2 separate regions of the Homo sapiens genome follow, and region 1 is linked to region 2. The links are contacts of gene promoters, found by promoter capture Hi-C in blood cells and fetal thymus (Javierre and others, 2016). All regions are on one chromosome and are shown on one strand. Each heading gives the region's core, a stretch centred on a gene start or on the middle of the fragment in contact. The rest is flanking DNA. Distances are from core to core; before and after follow the strand shown. Region 1 overlaps SLC22A5 (solute carrier family 22 member 5). Region 2 holds the start of CCNI2 (cyclin I family member 2).

The links. The method cuts DNA at HindIII sites, captures the fragments that hold promoters and counts their contacts. A CHiCAGO score of 5 or more calls a contact.
Region 1: a contact is called between a fragment that was not itself captured here and the fragment with the promoter of CCNI2 in region 2, in 5 of 17 cell types (endothelial precursors, activated CD4 T cells, total CD4 T cells and 2 more). The highest score is 7.6, in endothelial precursors.

Annotation. Positions count from the first base shown.
Region 1 is chr5:132,384,409-132,386,908 of GRCh38, forward strand. It overlaps SLC22A5 (solute carrier family 22 member 5), which reads left to right. Exons shown (of 10, transcript NM_003060.4): 4 at 920-1,091. Among named protein-coding and RNA genes, the nearest start is that of MIR3936HG, 16 kb to the left of the region's middle. RefSeq lists enhancers at 1,210-1,539, 2,033-2,082, 2,223-2,432. The HindIII fragment of the contact is 1,929 bases long and covers 287-2,215 here.
Region 2 is chr5:132,744,910-132,750,771 of GRCh38, forward strand. CCNI2 (cyclin I family member 2) reads left to right here and starts at 2,517. Exons shown (of 6, transcript NM_001039780.4): 1 at 2,517-3,015; 2 at 3,438-3,566; 3 at 4,439-4,513. The coding sequence starts at 2,587. RefSeq lists an enhancer at 2,000-2,079 and silencers at 2,170-2,589, 2,600-2,669, 2,690-2,879. The HindIII fragment of the contact is 9,894 bases long and covers 1-4,047 here.

The DNA of each region.
Region 1 (2,500 bases), core at 1-2,500, 360 kb before region 2:
CTAACAAAACTAGCCAGAGCTTCCTGGTGAACCTTACTTACAGGCAGGGAAACTGAGCCAGACATGAGACCAGCCTGGGGTCCCCAGCAGCACAATGGCCTGACTTCTGATTTCCAGTTCTTTTCTGGCCTCTGGGCTGTGGCTCCTTGGTCTTAGTACTTGATGGTCAATTTACTAGGACTCACCAGAGATCCTCCATTTACAAAAAGGGCCTGCCACTGCACAGGGCTGAGCCAGCCCCAGAAAGAGGGCGGCATGGTTGGAGGAGGAGGGGCTGTGACTGGCAAGCTTGCTAAGGTAGAGAACCCCTTGTCTGCAGAGCACTGTGGCTGGTGATATCTACGGACAAGAATAAATTGATAGGAAGGGGCTTTCGTCACCTTCAGGGTTTTAATTCAGAGTGCACACTGCAGGGCTTTGTCTCAAATGTGCCAGCCTGTTGTCACTGAGAAGCTGCCAGGCCGGCCTGTGTTTGGAGGAACCTGACTCTAGCTGATAAGGCCTTTGAGTTCCTTGGGTTGTATTGTTGAAAGGGTTGTTTTTTCTTTTTATATTTAATATTCTTTCCTTGAGGCTTAAGTCAGCATGTGCTGACTTAGTAATGACTTCACTTTTAATAAATTCTTCCTCATGTGAGGATTAAAGGGGGCCTACCATGGCATCTTTAGCACATGGCTTCAGAACATGGCGAAATTTTCAAGAGAGAACTGTTGCTTGGGGGCCTGAGAGGCCACAGGGATGTACCCCCAGGAGACAGTCAGACAGGAGGGGTTCAGAACGCCATCCGCTCCCTAGCGCCATGAACTTAGAGAGAGTTCTCGCTGTTTTCTTGTCTGTGTATTCACAAAGATACCATAAAAAATTAATAAGGAAGGAACCCAAATTAAACTGCTAACTCGACCTCCCTTGTTTTGAACAGGGACAGAAATTCTTGGCAAGTCAGTTCGTATAATATTCTCTACGTTAGGAGTGTGCATATTTTATGCATTTGGCTACATGGTGCTGCCACTGTTTGCTTACTTCATCCGAGACTGGCGGATGCTGCTGGTGGCGCTGACGATGCCGGGGGTGCTATGCGTGGCACTCTGGTGGTGAGTGTGACCTTGTGCCCCATGTGCCCACTGGCAGGATGATTTCTGTCTGGCCTTCACTAGAGGGCAGCAACAACCCATGAATCCCTATTTTGTCTCCCAGAGACAGGAAGCATAGATTATAAATTATTTCAGAATGTTTTCTCCACACTCAAAAGAGCCAAAACAAAACAGAATCCCATGACAGCAACAGACTTGCTCTCAGCCCTGTGCTGGGTTGCCCCAAGTGTGGGGAAAAATAGCAGTAGCTGTGAGAAGATGGGGTCCAGCATGCCCTGTAGGAAGTTCCCAAGCCTCAGGGCAGGACAGTGTAGGCCCTAGTTCTGGCTGTGTGCTGCTGAAGCCTCATGCCACAGGCACTGGCACCAAAAGCAAGAGTCCTCAGGGTAGCCACATGGAGGAAGCCAGGCTCCTTCTGCACCACCAAGGTAGAGGAGTTGAACAGGCAGAGAAGAGGCCATTCCAGACCAAGAGGGGAACACTGCAGAGGTGCTAAGGTGGGAATCACCCCTTGCAGGTGGAGAAGGTGAGATCACCAGCCCAAGTGGAGCAGAGAGCATTTCAGGGCATAGTGGGAGAGTAAGCCGCACATCATGGGGCCCAGTCATGACCGAGGGTGGGGGGCGGCTACCTGGTCCCAGCAAGGTGGAAAATAATATCCATAGAGCACTCAAGTGCCTTGATAAACATGCTAATTTTTTTCCTTTTTTTCTTTTCTTTTTCTTTTCTTTTTTTTTCTTTTTTTTTTCTCAGACAAAGTCTCTGTTGCCCAGGCTGTAGTGCAGTGGCGTGATTTCCACTTACTGCAACCTCCGCCTCCCCAGTTCAAGCGATTCTCATGTCTCAGCCTCCCGAGTAGCTGGGACTACAGGTGCCTGCCACCACACTTGGCTAATTTTTTTTGTATTTCTTTGGAGAGACGGGTTTCACTGCGTTGGCCAGGCTGGTCTGGAACTCCTAGCCTCAAATGATCCACCGGCCTTGGCCTCCTAAAGTGCTGGGATTATAGGAGTGAACCACTGCACCTGGCCAAACATGCTATTTTAGGTAGAGTATCTGACTAATCTGTTGGATAAATCAGGGGTAGGGTGAGGAGAGAAGAGAAGCTAAAAGGCCAGTGCAGAAGCTTCTGTTGGTGCCGGGGACAGGGAGGAGAGTGTAGCAGGGCCTGGGCTGACATAGACATGCACAGAAGCCAGGCTTCCGGAGCCCATCTTGCACCCATCTCCTCAGCCCAGCAGATGGCAACACTGCTCTTCAGAAATGGAGGTGGCCAGCCAGCATGGGGATGCCGTCAGGGGGTGCAGGGCTCTCCCATTTTTGTGCGGTGTGGGGTACACATAAGCTCATCCACCCCAGGTTATTGCTGCGTGTGGATCAGCTCTTTGCTTCTGGCTTGTGATCACCAA
Region 2 (5,862 bases), core at 1,267-3,766:
TGTAAAAGTATTTCTCTTTCACTTCTGAAGGATAATTTCACTGAATACAGAATTCTAGGATGGTGGGGGTTTTCTCTCAAAATTTTAAATATTTCACCCCACTCTCTTCTTGCTTGCATGATTTCCGAAGACAAGTCCAATGTGATTCTTATCCTTATCCCACCTTATCTTATTTCCACCTCATCCTACCCAGCTCCTGCTCCCAGCTTTGCTTGCTCTTTCTTTCTTTCTTTCTTTCTTTTTTCTTTTCTTTTCTTTTTTTTGAGATGGAGTCTCCCTCTGTCACCCAGGCTGGAGTGCAGTGGCATGATCTCAGTTTACTGCAACCTCCACCTCTTGGATTCAAGCGATTCTTGTGCCTCAGCCTCCTGAGTAGCGGGGACTACAGACATGTGCCACCACACCTGGCTAATTTTGTATTTTTAGTAGAGACAGGGTTTCACCATATTGGCCAGGCTGGTCTTGAACTCCTGACCTCAAGTGATCCGCCCACCTCAGCCTCCCAAAGTGCTGAGATTACAGGCCAGCTTCTTTTGAGATTTTTTTTTTTTAATCTTGATTTCCTGCAGGCTTTTTTCAACTTTTATTTTAGATTCTGGTATATTGTGCAATGCTGATATTTGGGGTATGAATGATCCTGTCACCCAGGTACTGAGCACAGTACCCCATAGTTATCCAACCCTTGTCCCCTCCTTCCCTCCCCGCTCTGGTAGCCTCCAGTGTCTACTGTTGCCATCTTTACGTCCATGTGTACTCAATGCTCGCTTAAAAGTGAGAGCATGTAGTATATAATTTTCTGTTCCTGTGTTCATTTGCTTGGAATAATAGCTTCCAACTTCATCCATGTTTGCTACAAAGGACATGATTTCATTCTTTTTAATGACTACATAGTATTCCATATTGTATATGTACCACATTTTCTTTATCCAGTCGATCACTGAAGGGCACCTAGGTTGACTCCATGTCTTTGCTACTGTGACTAGTACTGTGATGAACATGCAAATGTATGTGTCTTTATGGTAGAACAATTTATTTTCCTTTTGCGTATATACCCAGTAAAGGGACTGCTGGGTTGAATAGTACTGTTTTAAGTTGTTTGAGAAATCTCTAAACTGCTTTCAACAGTGACTGAACTAATTTACATTACCACCAGCAGTGTATAAGCATTCCCTTTTCCCTGCAGCCTCACCAGCGTCTGTTGGTTTTTGACTTTTTAATAGTAGCCATTCTGATTGGTGTGAGATGCATTACTCTGATGATTAGTGATGTGGAGCATTTTTTCATGTTTGTTGACCACTTGTATATCTCCCTTTGAGAAGTCTATTCATGTCTTTTTGCCTGTTTTTTGATGGGGTTGTTTTTTGCTTGTTTAATTAAATTCCTTACAGATTCTGGATATTAAGACCTTTGTCGAATGCTTACTTTGCTAATACTTTTCTCCCACTCTATAGGTTGTCTGCTGACTCTGTTGATAGTTTCTTTTGATTTTCTACGGTTTAAATAGGAATGTCTAGGTGTAGTTCTTGGCATTTATCTTGCTTAATGTTCTCAGAGCTTCCTAGAATTGTGGTTTGGTGTTTGGCATTAATTTGGAAATATTCATTCTCAGTCGTTATTGTTTCAAATATTTCTTCTGTTCCTCTCTTTCTTGTCCTTCTGGTATTCCCATATATTTTTAATATACATTTAATGTAATGAATTTTTTAAACAAAATATAACTTAGGAGCCAGGTGTGGTGGTGTGCACCTGTAAGTCTCAGCTACTTGAGAAGCTGAGGTTGAGGGTAGCTTGAGTCCAGGAGTTTGAGGTTGTAGTGTGCTGCGATCACACCTGAGAATAGCCACTGCACTCCAGCTTGGGCAACATAGCAAGATCCACCCCTAAAATTTATGTATGTATGTGTATACATATATATGATTTGTATGATTTTCCTTATTATACGTTTATAGCTATATATGTATGTATAGATACATAAACATATATGTATATGAATGAATCACCTTGTGAGGGAGGTATTATCACTTTTTTTTTCGGAGAAGAGGTAGCCAAGGCTCTGAGAGGTCACGACACATGCATGAGATCACACAGCGCGTCTGGAATTCCATTTCAAGCCTGTCTGAGGAGGGCGCTCTCGCTGCTTCTTTACCTGGTCTTGTGTCCCCAAGTGTGTAATGTGAGGTAAGACCCAGGGTCTGTGTCCGGGAGTCCTGGCCCAAGGCGGGCGCAGTCTCCAGCCGCCCCACCCCTGGCTGGGGGCTCTGCTCAGGGAGCACGGCCGGCAGGGGGGAGGAGGCGTGCGCTAGGCAGCAGCGGGGATGGAGGGAAGGGAGGGGGTCCGCCACCCGCCTGTGCGCGCCCAGTCCTGCCGCATCCTGGGTGCGCGCCGCCCACCCGCGGGGCGAGTGCCCAGGAGGCGAGGCGCGGCCCGGTGCGCCAGAGGTAGCTCCACCGCGAGCGTTGTGGGTGGGGCCCGCCGAGCCCGCCTCCCCACCTCCCCCGGCGGCGCCCCAGGCTGCAGTGTTCCGGGAGCTGGGTTATAAAATGCCGGGTTAAGCGGCAACTCAGACTCAGGATCCCGCTCACGACATGGCCTCGGGCGCTCAGCTCCCGCCGCAGCCGTCGAGCTCAGAGGTCAGCGCCGTCCAGAGCCCAGGCGGGCGTCCCGGCGCCGGTCTGGAGGAAACAGCCCTGGGCGTTCCTCTCCCGCCGTCTCCGGGGGAGGCCCCTCTGCCCCGAAGCAACCGGAGCAGGTGCCCTGGGACCCGCCAGCCCGGAGCGGCCTCCCTCCACGCGGCGTCCGCAGCAGTCCCCGTGCGGCCCCGGCGCGGTACGGCGCCAGCCGGGAAAACCGCAGACGCGGTCCCCGCCGCCGCCCCAGAGCAAGCTCCGCGGCCGGCTCCACAGTCCCGCAAGCCGCGCAACCTGGAAGGCGACCTGGACGAGCGCCGGCTGCTCTGCCACTTGCAGCTGGCCCAGGACCGCGAGGCGCGCCTGTGGCGGGGCGGCAAACCCCAGGTACCCGTCGCTGCCGCGTGGCCCTCCTCGCGCGTGCACGGCAGGCGGATGTGGCCTCCACCTGCACCCGCGCTCGGGTGTTCTGAAACTGGAGGCCGGGCCCTTCCCCAGGTGTGGCCCCTCACGAGAGGCACGAGGCTGGATCCACCAGCTTCTCTCTAGGAGGGCGTCTTGCTAGCAGGGCCTTCGGAAGAGGGCCTGTTTGAATCAAGGAACTCAGCCTACGACGAAAAGTGGGCGCGAGGGGTGGGGGTGATGGGTGAGCCGCTGCGCCGGGGGGCGCTTACTCCCAGCGGGCATGCAGAGGAAGGGACTTCTCACTGCCCCACCCCCCGCACCTTAAGCAGGAGGCTCCTGCTGCTGGGGGACCAGGAGTGGCCGCTAGCGACCTTCCTCGCCCCACCTGCTCTTCTTCCTAGCAGGATGAAATCTGCGACGCCTTCGAGGAAGTCGTGCTGTGGCTCCTGCGGCTTCAGAACACCTTTTACTTCTCCCAGTCCACTTTTAACCTGGCCCTCACCATCTTTGGCCGCCTCCTGATTTCAGTGAAGGTAGGGAGGCCTCTGAGGGACGGTGGCAGATGGTGAGAGAAGAAACTAACCTTTGCTCCCCATTCCTGCTTGAGAGGTGAGGGTTTCCAGATGCTCAAAACCAAGGTGTATAAACTAACTTGCTCCGAGTGGAAGAGCTGGTGTTGGAACCTCTCCACATCCTACACTGGCTGTCTCAGGGTCATGTAGTCATCAGGATTGGACTTGGGGAGCGTGAGAGGACCTAGCTGGGAAAGGGCTTCCTGTGTAATGAGGTAGGATGTGCTTGTCTCGACCTGTCGAGGGCAGCTTGAGGCTAGGATGAGACTGGGTTCCCTGAGAAGGTGCCATATTTCCCACCTCCAGTCAGTCCCGAAATGAAGGAATACTGCCCAGTCATCTGCAGTTCTGAAATCAGGAGCATCTTCGTTGGTCAGATCTAAAAACGGCACTAACATTCTGTCTTGTGGAGAAATTGAGCCTTTTAAAAATGGGAAAAAAAAGCTTATTAAAACAAACGGCTGGGCGCAATGGCTCACGCCTGTAATCCCAGCAATTTGGGAGGCCAAGGGGTGTGGATCACTTGAGGTCAGGAGTTGGAGACCATCCTGGCCAGCATGGTGAAACCCTGTCTCTACTAAAAATACAAAAATTAGCCAGGTGTGGTGGCCCGCCCCTATAGTCCTAGCTACTCAGGAGGCTGTGACAGGAGAATCGCTCAAAATCAGGAGGTGGAGGTTGCAGTGAGCCAAGATCATGCCACTGCACTCCAGCCTGGGCAACAGAGTGAGACTCCATGTCAAAAAAGTGTATAAAAGAAAACAAACACAGATGCTTTTCAGTTTGTTTCTGGCATTCATATTCTGCTCAAATGTGTTTGTTCCATACTGCAGGTAAAAGAGAAATACCTGCATTGCGCCACAATTACTTCCTTGAGGCTCGCTGCAAAAGTTAATGAAGAAGAGGAGGTATGCATCCTTGGAAGTCCACACTGGGCTGCACTTGAGGTATAGGGGTGTAACATTGGAGGACTCCAGTTTCCTGATAGGTCTGTGCCCTTAGGTATGGTGGATGTTTTGAAAAAGTCACCAACTTGCCGGCATCTCTGCTATCCCTTCCATCGGCTTGTCAGGCTTTGAGACCCCACAAATGAACAAGTAGAGCAGCTGAACTGTCCTGGCCCACCAAACCTAGAGACCTGAACTCTTGACAGATACATCTGGCCTCACTGGTTGATGACAGATGCTACCTCTCTCTAAACAGGGGCATCTGCTGTTGAGCAAGGAAAAAGGCCTCCCAAACCATGTGACTTAACATCCACCCCAAGCAATTATGTCTAAGAAAGCTGCTTGAGACTTGAGGACTTGGCTGTGTCAATGAAGCTGGTCCTTGGGAACTCTGGGACCCCTGAGAGGGACAGGAGGGCCATGTGCTGGGGGTAAAGTACAAGGGGCCCATGAGCATTTCAGGCATGGCTGGATGGCTGAATTTCACTGTGGCATCTGTTCAGGAGGAGATCATCTCCTAATACCCTTTCCAAGCTTTCCTACCTCCCTCCAACTTCTCCCAGTTTGGGGATGGTGAAATCACTGCCATTGCCACGGGGGTCACCCTTAGCTGATCTCTGGGTCTGAGGAGGCAGGGAAGAAGTTGTGTGTCCAGTTCCAAACCTTCAATAAAAATGTTTTAAACTCCTGTTTATTAGAATAGAATTAATGCCCAAGTTGCTTTTGTCCAACTAAAAATCAAGTGACCCTTTTTCTGGAGGTTATAGTAATACTTCTGTTTATCTAAAAACATAGGATCAAGCCTTTAATGTACTTGGTACTCAAATGTTTACTCATAGACAAGCCTCATTAGTCCCTCTGTGGGAAAAGCCATAGTTTTTCCAGAACTGAACCACCTTCAATCAAGGTTGAAGGAAATGTGTTTGCAGTTGCGATGCTAAAAAACCCATAGGAGGTTTTATCAATGTGTCTGGTACAGACTAGGAAGCTCAAAAGCATAGTTTTTTTCTCTATGCCCAGTACCCACGGTAGGGATCAGGAATAGGGAGAGGCAGAACCCATGGCTCCTGGAAAGCTTGGGGTGAGTTCTTGCAGCTGAACAGGGGAGATGGCACAGCCCCAGCCTCCAAAGCACCTTTGGGTATGAGCTAGCATGCAGCTGGGGGATCAAGACCCGGTTTCAGAGGGGGACCATGTGATGTTCACTACATAACTACCTGAGGATTTGACAGATAGCCAAGATCTGGTTTAGTATTTCTTTCAGAAGCATTTTCTGTGGCAGGCCACAGGAAGACAACTCCACTAAGGTC